Regions from separate parts of the Homo sapiens genome. Here all the other regions are linked to region 2. The links are contacts of gene promoters, found by promoter capture Hi-C in blood cells and fetal thymus (Javierre and others, 2016). All regions are on one chromosome and are shown on one strand. The core of a region is centred on a gene start or on the middle of the fragment in contact, and the rest is flanking DNA. Distances in the headings are between cores, read along the strand shown. Region 1 overlaps ZNF777 (zinc finger protein 777). Region 2 holds the start of ZNF282 (zinc finger protein 282). Region 3 has its middle 12 kb from the start of TRC-GCA11-1.

Evidence for each region. Contacts are between HindIII fragments. The CHiCAGO score rates a contact against its expected background, and 5 or more counts as called.
Region 1: a contact is called between a fragment that was not itself captured here and the fragment with the promoter of ZNF282 in region 2, in 1 of 17 cell types (naive CD8 T cells). The highest score is 5.5, in naive CD8 T cells.
Region 3: a contact is called between a fragment that was not itself captured here and the fragment with the promoter of ZNF282 in region 2, in 1 of 17 cell types (non-activated CD4 T cells). The highest score is 5.7, in non-activated CD4 T cells.

The regions. Positions count from the first base shown.
Region 1 is chr7:149,443,332-149,446,084 of GRCh38, forward strand. The region is part of intron 4 of ZNF777 (zinc finger protein 777); the gene reads right to left. Among named protein-coding and RNA genes, the nearest start is that of ZNF777, 16 kb to the right of the region's middle. The HindIII fragment of the contact is 3,968 bases long and covers 1-2,753 here.
Region 2 is chr7:149,194,250-149,196,949 of GRCh38, forward strand. ZNF282 (zinc finger protein 282) reads left to right here and starts at 1,297. Exons shown (of 8, transcript NM_003575.4): 1 at 1,297-1,505. The coding sequence starts at 1,341. RefSeq lists silencers at 965-1,254, 1,073-1,394, 1,515-1,874 and an enhancer at 2,315-2,364. The HindIII fragment of the contact is 5,667 bases long and covers 1-2,271 here.
Region 3 is chr7:149,425,771-149,428,718 of GRCh38, forward strand. No RefSeq gene overlaps it. Among named protein-coding and RNA genes, the nearest start is that of TRC-GCA11-1, 12 kb to the left of the region's middle. The HindIII fragment of the contact is 5,723 bases long and covers 1-2,948 here.

The DNA.
Region 1 (2,753 bases), core at 109-2,608, 250 kb after region 2:
ACTTATATAATTAAGGCCATGTGTATGTAATCACATGCACATAAAATTGGAATGAATAAACTGCTGACTCTTGAGAGAAAACTATGGGGGACTTTCACTCTCTCTGTACTTTTTCTTTGTGAAATTAAAAACCAGTATTGCCACATTAACTCTCTCTACCAGCTCAAAGTAAATAAATATTGGTTGACACTGACTTTCCAATCTTCGCATGGCTATACTGTTAGGTTTTTTTAATTAAAAAAAATTTTTTTTAAAGTTATACATGCACATAGGCTAGTGGAACATAGTTGAACAGTTCTTCAAAACTTCTTTTTTTTGAGACGGGGCTGCATCTTCCACCCCTTGGATTCAAGTGATTCTCCTGCCTTAGCCTCCTGAGTAGCCGGGATTACAGGCATGGGCCACCACACCCAGCTATATATACATATTTTGTGTACTTTTAGTAGAGATGGGGTTTTACCATGTTGCCCAGGCTAATCTCAAACTCCTGACCTCAAGTGATCCACCTGCCTCGGCCTCCCAAACTGTTGGGATTAGAGGCGCGAGCCACCACACCCGGCCCAAAACTTATTTTTTAAAAAGTTCTTTTCCACTCCTCTGCCCCCATTTCCTGCTCCCCGAAGCAATCACTTCAATGATTCCAGCTGACTCTTTGGTCATTTACCTCCATAACTCTAAGTAACACACTTATATTGCTACTCCTTGAGTTTTCAATTTTAAGCATCATCCATTGACTTCCAAGGGATGACGGTCAGAACCATCTCCTCCGAACTGATCCTGCCAATACAGTTTTGTTGTAATTTTAGTTGGATCAATACTGGGTGTTTACCTCGCTAGATTATATCAATGTTATTTATAACTAAACTCTGTAGTATTCAGTGAGTGCCTCCTACGCCTGTAAACCTTCTTGCTTTCCCTAGATCTGACACTTATTTCTTTTGCCCAGCTTACGACTAATTATCATGAACTTAGCCCCAAACTCCCCCAACCTTACCTTGCTGTGTAACTCTCCTTTCCAAACATTCAAATATATTGGGTATTTATCCATTTCATCTACTTGAAGACAAATTTCTGGGACCTGCGGAGGTGCCCCACTCGACTGGCTGCCTCTAGGTGCACAGCTGACCTCTCGGAATGCCCCTGGGCCGTGTGCCTGGAGTGCCTCCACCTCTCTCTCAAGTTGGGGTTTGTAATGCCTCCTTCTTGGTTTACTTCCTCATTTTGGCAAAGCGCCTGCCCCAGTTTGATAAAGGATTTGTGGAGACTTGAATATCTCAAAATGACTCAGTTTCACTCATATTTAATCGAAATAGTCTGGCTAGACATTGAATTATAAGTTGGAAAATATTTTCCTTTGGAATTTGAAAGGCACTACTCTACTGTCTTCTAGCTCCCAATGTGGTTACAAATGTCTGAGGCCATTCTAATTCTCATTTCTTCGCATGACTCTGTTTCTCTTCCCTGGAAGCTCGTAGGATTTCCTTTGTTCTCAGTTGCTCTGAAATTCCGTGCTGAAAGTGTAGGTCTATTTTCTTCCAGTGCTCTGGGCAGCTGGCTCTTTCAATCTAGAAAATTACGGCTTTAATTGGCGGGACCTTTTCTTGAATTATTTTGTTGATAATTCCCACCTGTTTCTGCTACTCTTTTTCTGGATATTCCTATTATCTGGATGTTGGACTTCCATCCTTCAGTTTTCTTATTCTTTCCCTATTCCCTTCCATCCTTTATTTTTATTTTTTTCCCTATTTTCTTTTCTTTTAGCTTTATTTTCTGGGATGTGTGCTTATCCTCCAACACTGCTCCTGAGTCTCTAATTTGTACTATTACATTTTTTATTTCCAAGAGTTCCTTTCTATTCCTTTTTTAAAAAACAAGCATTACACTTTTGTGTCATGAATGCATTCACTTATTTGATTTAAGGATTTTACATGTGAGTATTCATATATACATTTTTCCCTCTCTGCATGGTCTCTGTTCCTCTAAATGTATTTTTTCTGATTTCTTTACTTGTCTCTGTACACCACAGAGTTTTCCCAAATGTCTTCTCATTCTTGGTTGTCCCCGGAGACTTAAAAGGGGACACTCAAGAGAACAGGGAGCTCAGTGCATTTGGGTGAGGCCTGCTAACTATGGGACTCTGTTTGGCCCATAGGGTGCTTTGGCCAAGTCATTTTACCCAGAAACCTCTTGGGCTGGTCCCAAAAGTCTCCAGATAAGCCTCTTCAAATATCCTGCCCAGTGGGTTTAATTCTGGGTGTTGGCAACATTTCGGGAGTCGAGTTAGGGAAGAAGGCTGGAGGTCTCAACATCTGCACGTCAAGTCTCCTTCTTCCCGTTTTCAATATGGTGCCCCACCCTCAACTGTGCCTGGTGCCCATGTCCAGAGAGCCTCCTTTGCACCCTCCCCAGAGAATAAGCCTGTCACATATCAGGGCTAGGGAAAGGCAGATGCCTGCAGTAGGGACTGAGGGAGGCAATGGGAGCTGAGGGGAGCTTTAAGCGGTCTCTTTAAAAGATGTTCAGCCAGCTGTCTGTGTTTAGCCTCACTTCATTCCTATTTCCAGGGATCCCTAGAGTCTCTGGTACTATTAACTCTTGAGCCCCAAGCAGGTGTGGGGGTGCAAATTGGGTTTCTTCTCAGTTTTCCCCAGTACCAATTTCAGATTCAGCTCACCACATCTATCCACCTGCTTCAGGGCTGAAAAACTTCGTTGCTGTTTCTCCTTTCTTTTTAAAAGTTTCTTCACTCTTGT
Region 2 (2,700 bases), core at 47-2,546:
AGGCTAGAGTGCAGTGGCGCGATCTCGGCTCACTGCAAGCTCCGCCTCCCGGGTTCACGCCATTCTCCTGCCTCAGCCTCCCGAGTAGCTGGGACTACAGGCGCCGCCACCACACCCGGCTAATTTTTTTGTATTTTTAGTAGAGACGGGGTTTCACCGTGTTAGCCAGGATGGTCTCGATCTCCTGACCTCGTGATCCGCCCGTCTTGGCCTCCCAAAGTGCTGGGATTACAGGCGTGAGCCACGGCGCCCGGCCTTATTATTATTTTTTGAGATGGAGTCTCGCTCTGTTGCCCAGGCTGGAGCGCACTGGCGCGATCTTGGCTCACTGCAACCTCCGCTTCGGAGGTTGAAGCGATTCTCCTGCCTCAGCCTCCCGAGTAGCTAGGATTATAGGCCCACGCCACCACGCCCGGCTAATCTTTTTGTATTTTTAGTAGAGACGGGGTTTCACCATGTTGGCCAGGCTGGTCTCGAACTCCTGACCTCAGGTGATCCGCCTGCCTCAGCCTCCCAATGTGCTGGGATTACAGATGTGAGCCACCGCGCTCGGCTAATTTTTATTTTTTATAGGGATGGGGTGTCAATATGTTGCTCAGTCTGGTCTCGAACTCCTGGGCTCAAGTCGTTCTCCTGCTTCAGCCTCTCAGAGTGCTGAGATTACAGGTGTGAGGCACCACGCCCAACCCAATTTCAAGGTGTTTGAAGAGGCCACTGTTAAAATGCACTGCACCTTACCTGGGAGAAAGAGCTCAGCCCTCTTTTGACACCTTAACATGAATCACTTCTCTATCATCCATAACAGTGCAAAAGCTCTGGGATGGGTCCAGGTAAATCTGGATTGGGAAGAAGGGGAGTGGGAGGTAAAGTCTGCAAAGGAGTGAGGGAAGGCAGAAGGCCAGAAGAAAGTGTCTGAAGACAGAATTACTCCTGCAAAATTTTCACAAGGGTCAGGCACTATTTTCTCCCGGGATGCCCAATACATTTGCAGAATTAACAGTAATCAAGCCCACAGTCCAGGTCCTCGCATAGTTTGGGCCTTTAAAGTCGGCCATCCCAGATTGAGGGGGCCTGACCCCTGGGCGAGGCCGCCGCCTCTCAGTTTTGGGGCGGTGGCGACCCCAGTCCGGGAGTGGCCCCGGTAGGTCCCCGCAGGCGGGCAGGAGCTCCGAGGCCATTGGCTGGCGCGCGGGCTGCCAAGGGGCGGGGAGCGCCGCCGAAGGGGACTGTTTGCTCCTACGGGCTGTAGATGGAGCTGTCCGGCCCCGGAGAGGGGGAAGGCGCCTGGAAAACGTTCTTCTTCTCCCTGGCCGACCCGAGCGGGGAACAGCACTCCCAGGATGCAGTTTGTGTCAACACGGCCGCAGCCTCAGCAGCTGGGCATCCAGGGCCTGGGGCTGGACAGCGGGAGCTGGAGCTGGGCCCAGGCTCTGCCCCCGGAGGAGGTCTGCCACCAGGAGCCGGCGCTGCGCGGGGAAATGGCCGAGGGAATGCCGCCCATGCAGGTGGGAGAACCCCGCCGGCGCCATGGCCGCGCTGCCGTGGGGGCGGGGCGCGGGCTGGGCCGCGGGACCGGGCCGCGCCGTCCTCCGGTAGCCTTGCGGCGCCCTCCCAGCTTCCGCGCCCAGGCGAGGCCCGAGGCGGGCGGGGCACGGCCGGGCTGCGCGGCGGGCAGGACGGAGCGGGCCCGACGCAGGCCCGGAAGGGCAGGCCTGGCCCGCGCGGCGCGGAGCAGCGGTCGCCGGGCCCAAGTGCGGAGGCCCCGCGGGGCGGGGGCCGGGACCGTCCTTTCCGGGACCTGGCAGAGCTCTGACCCTGTGGCTGAGCCCCGGCTTGGGGCTCCCTTTGCGCCCGGCCGGCGGAGAGCTTCGCGGGCAGTGCTTCCGCCCGGCCGCAGAAGTGAATGCCTCGTTCGTGTTTACACGGTGGCCAATTTGACGGGGATATTTTTTAAATGTTTGATTACCACCTTTCACCAAGTGTAATGAGTAATTCACTCTCCCCCTGCACCGGGTGTGATCCAGGGAGGGGGCCATGGAGAGATGACTTCGGGGTCTTTCCTGCGGTTGACAAACTTGGCCGCATGTTGGAATGGCCTGGGCAGCTTTTAAGACTCCTGAGCCCTTGCCTGGTCCCAGAGCTCAGGGTCTCTGACGGGTGAGAGTAGCACCAGGCATTTCTTCAGGCTCCATCGATGATCTCCGTGGGCAGAACCGGTGCTCCAGAATTGGGTATAAAACCAGGGGAGGTGGATCCTCAGAGAGGCCTGAAAGCTTGCCCAGGGAAGACTCTCTGGGCCCACCCTGGGGCTGGGCTGCTCAGGGGCCCCTCTGCTCACCACGCGGCTCTCAGCCAGGTGCTAACGAGGGAGCCAGGGGCTGCTGTGTTGTGTTTGATCATTTTCAGGGTTAGGGCTTCAAACCCGAGAAAACTAAACTGGGCCCCGGGACTTTCTTAACTTCTACTGTGGACTCTGTCCCCTTCTGTGGGCTAGGGCGGAGTGGAGCCTCTGTGATGGAGGAATGGGTGCTTTTGATGGAAACACCAGCACCTCTTACTGGTATTACAGGGCCTGGCGATCCTAGGGCCCTGCTCTCCACTCTGCTGTGTCCCGGAGCAGGTCTGCCCCGGAGCAGGGCTGCTCTTGAGTCAGAGAGTGGGGCTGGTCTGCCCAGATCGCCCCAAGCAGCAGGCCTCCCC
Region 3 (2,948 bases), core at 180-2,679, 230 kb after region 2:
AATTGAGTTTAGCTTAAATCCAAGCTATTTCAATCCTTTGAGGGCATAATTTGATTATTTGTGTATCAGGTAAATGAAGAGCTGATTGCATTTAATTTTTAAAAAGATTTTATACTTATTAGACTATACTGATTTTAAGAAGAAACAGTCTGTTGTCCTGATAATCATTCTTTAAATAAAATTACCAGCAGGGATAGACATTTTCACTGATACATTTTGTCATTAAAATTCAACTTTCCATTACCTGAATTAATAGACAGCAGTGATGCTCCTGTCTTATAATACTTGAGTTATTTTGAGATATTATTTTACAAAGAGAAGCAGTGAGTTTCATTCATGCGGTAGTGGCGGGGAGGGAATGGTGAGAACTTAGAGGTAGCACTGAGCCGGCAGGATTAGAGTCAAGGGTGTATTTTGTGTTATTAGGGAGCAGGTATTTCTTCCTTATAATAATCTCCTTCATGCAACTACTCCTCTGACTGATAAACAAATGGCTTCTTAGGTCCCAACGTCAGAAATAAACAGAGAAAGGTGGCCTCTTGCCATAACAGTGCTCTCCCCAAAGTCCCTAAGGTATAGAGGACTCAGTCTAAAACGGGGGCTGGATTGGTGTTCTAACCACCAGTGTGCCCAGGAACACCTATTCTACCCTGGTCAGGTGAACCTCAGGACGTCTCCCAATGTCGCCTGGGCTTGGCTGGCCAGGCAGCCAGGGAACTGTGCTTTCAGGCAGGTCCAGACTCACATGCTGTGCCCATAGACAGTGAGAGCTGCAAATCAAAGAGAAATAGTCATGTTTTGCCCTTTTTATTAAGGATCCATGTTGAAATTGGGAGGCAGTATGTAACAGTGGTTAATAGCACACAGCTGGGGTTCCCACCCACTTAGGTTTAAATTCTGGCCGTGTGACCTTGGCTGCTGATGGCTGAACCTCTCTGAACTTCATCTGTTCAAGGGGACACAGATACCAATTTCACAGGTTGTTGCAAGATAAAATGAAAGGAAAGCGTTTATGATCTGGCACAGTGACTGCAACATGGTAAAACTCAATGAATTGTAGTGATTTTAGTTATTATCCTTAATAAACTTATGGCTAGTTCTGACTTCTGAACAGAACTTTTCATGTAAGGTTGCGATCAATAGTACTATGTTTAATGTTTTCTTTTCTTTCTTTCTATCCTGGTCTTTTCCCCTTTTTTCCTTCCTTTCACCTTCCTTTTCTTTCTTTTTTTTAGAGAAATCATTTAACCTGGAGCTGTCCTTTGTAGAAAACAGAAATAAAAGGGCTAAAGTCTATATTTTAACTAAAATTCCTCATTTCAAGGAAACCAACTAGAAATGGTAGATGCAAAGTTGATTTTTTTTTTTTTTTTTTTTTACAAATTGTCATCTAGAAGTTGCCAGTATGACTGGGAAGCAACAAGAGGCTTCAGCAGCAGTAATGCTTTCCAGAGCGCTGGAGGAGAGGCCCTGGCCTGACTCAATGTTGCCCTGGCAACAGTAGGGCCTGGAGGGCCTCTGTCCCTGATCCCTTAATCTGAGGAGCTGCCACCACAGTGCTTCAGGAAAGGTCTCCCACAGACACCTGGCTGGTTCAGGCTACATCCACTGAAGAGGAATGAAGAAAAGCTGGGGATGCGGTCCTTTATCAGAGACAGCCGCCTAAAGGCCTCTCTGATGGTCCCAGCTTTCCAGATCCCCAGAGGCTTAACCAGGCTGCCAGTCTCCACCAGATGCTAAGTGCTGTCTAGGCAGCCAGGGATTCCTAATCCTCTTGTGTTTCTCCACAGAGCCCAGCACAATTCTTTGCACACAAGTGGTGATTAATAAATACTGGGGGGGGGGTGCAGGGCTGTAAGACAGTGAGCATCCCCTCGGCACCAGCCCTGCCTGTCCCACCTGTGACCTTGGAGGACCCAACTCCTCTCCTCTTCATTTCTCAGCTATAAAATGCTAGGGCTCAGCGCTAAGGGTTTTTTCCTGCCTCAAACATTCTTTTTTATCCTCTTACTGTGTTCATCATTTTGGCAAATGCACAGAGCATGTTCTGTTTAATATATTTTGTTTCCCCCAATTTTATCTTCAGTCAAAAAATCCGGAGGCAAAATGGAATAATTTAAAAGAGGTGCTGGCTTTTCTTTTTTCAACAACGATACTGGCCCCAGGAAAACAACTTTTTGGCCAAGCACATGGGCTTTGGAGTCAAAGAACTGAGTTCAAATCCTGGCTCTACTATTTGGTTGCTGTGTGACTTTGGGCCTACTTAACCTCCCTGAGCCTGGAGCTTTCCACCTATAAAATGGGTGTAATGAAACATACATCAGAGTTATGAAGGGATGTATGTAAAGTCTTCCAAAGTAAGAAGCTCTCAATAAATGGTAGTTATTCCTTCTGCTACACAGCTTTATGGGGCCAACAGCAACAGGCAACTTAGGAGTTCACAAGTCTAATTAAATTAAGGGCACCCAAGAAAAGCACTGTGAAAGAGGACCAGAAAACTCAGCGAGGTGGGGTACTACCTCCTGCAAACTCTGGAGTGTGGCCAAGGGGTGAACTGAAACCCTGTCCACTCCTAGATAAGGACCATGATATAGTTGTGGTTTAATTTGTACTTTCTCACACCAAAATAATCTACATTTGCCTACTGAAATTTCCTTCTCAAAGATTCATTCTTTTAGGATATAACACTAGCCCACTACCAACTTGAACTTCTGTTTGAAATTAGTAATCTCTTATTGAGACCTTAGTATCTGCCAGTGTCTTTGCTATGTATCTATTGTGATTTAAGCCTCAGAACAATGGGAACTTTATTATCCCTATTTGACAGATGAGGAAATTGATGTTCTGTTAATTAACTTGTTCAAGGCCATACAACTATGAAGTTTAAAGCCACGTCTTTTTGACACCAAAGGCTATCTACACTTTAGGAACCAATAGCAGAGATTAGG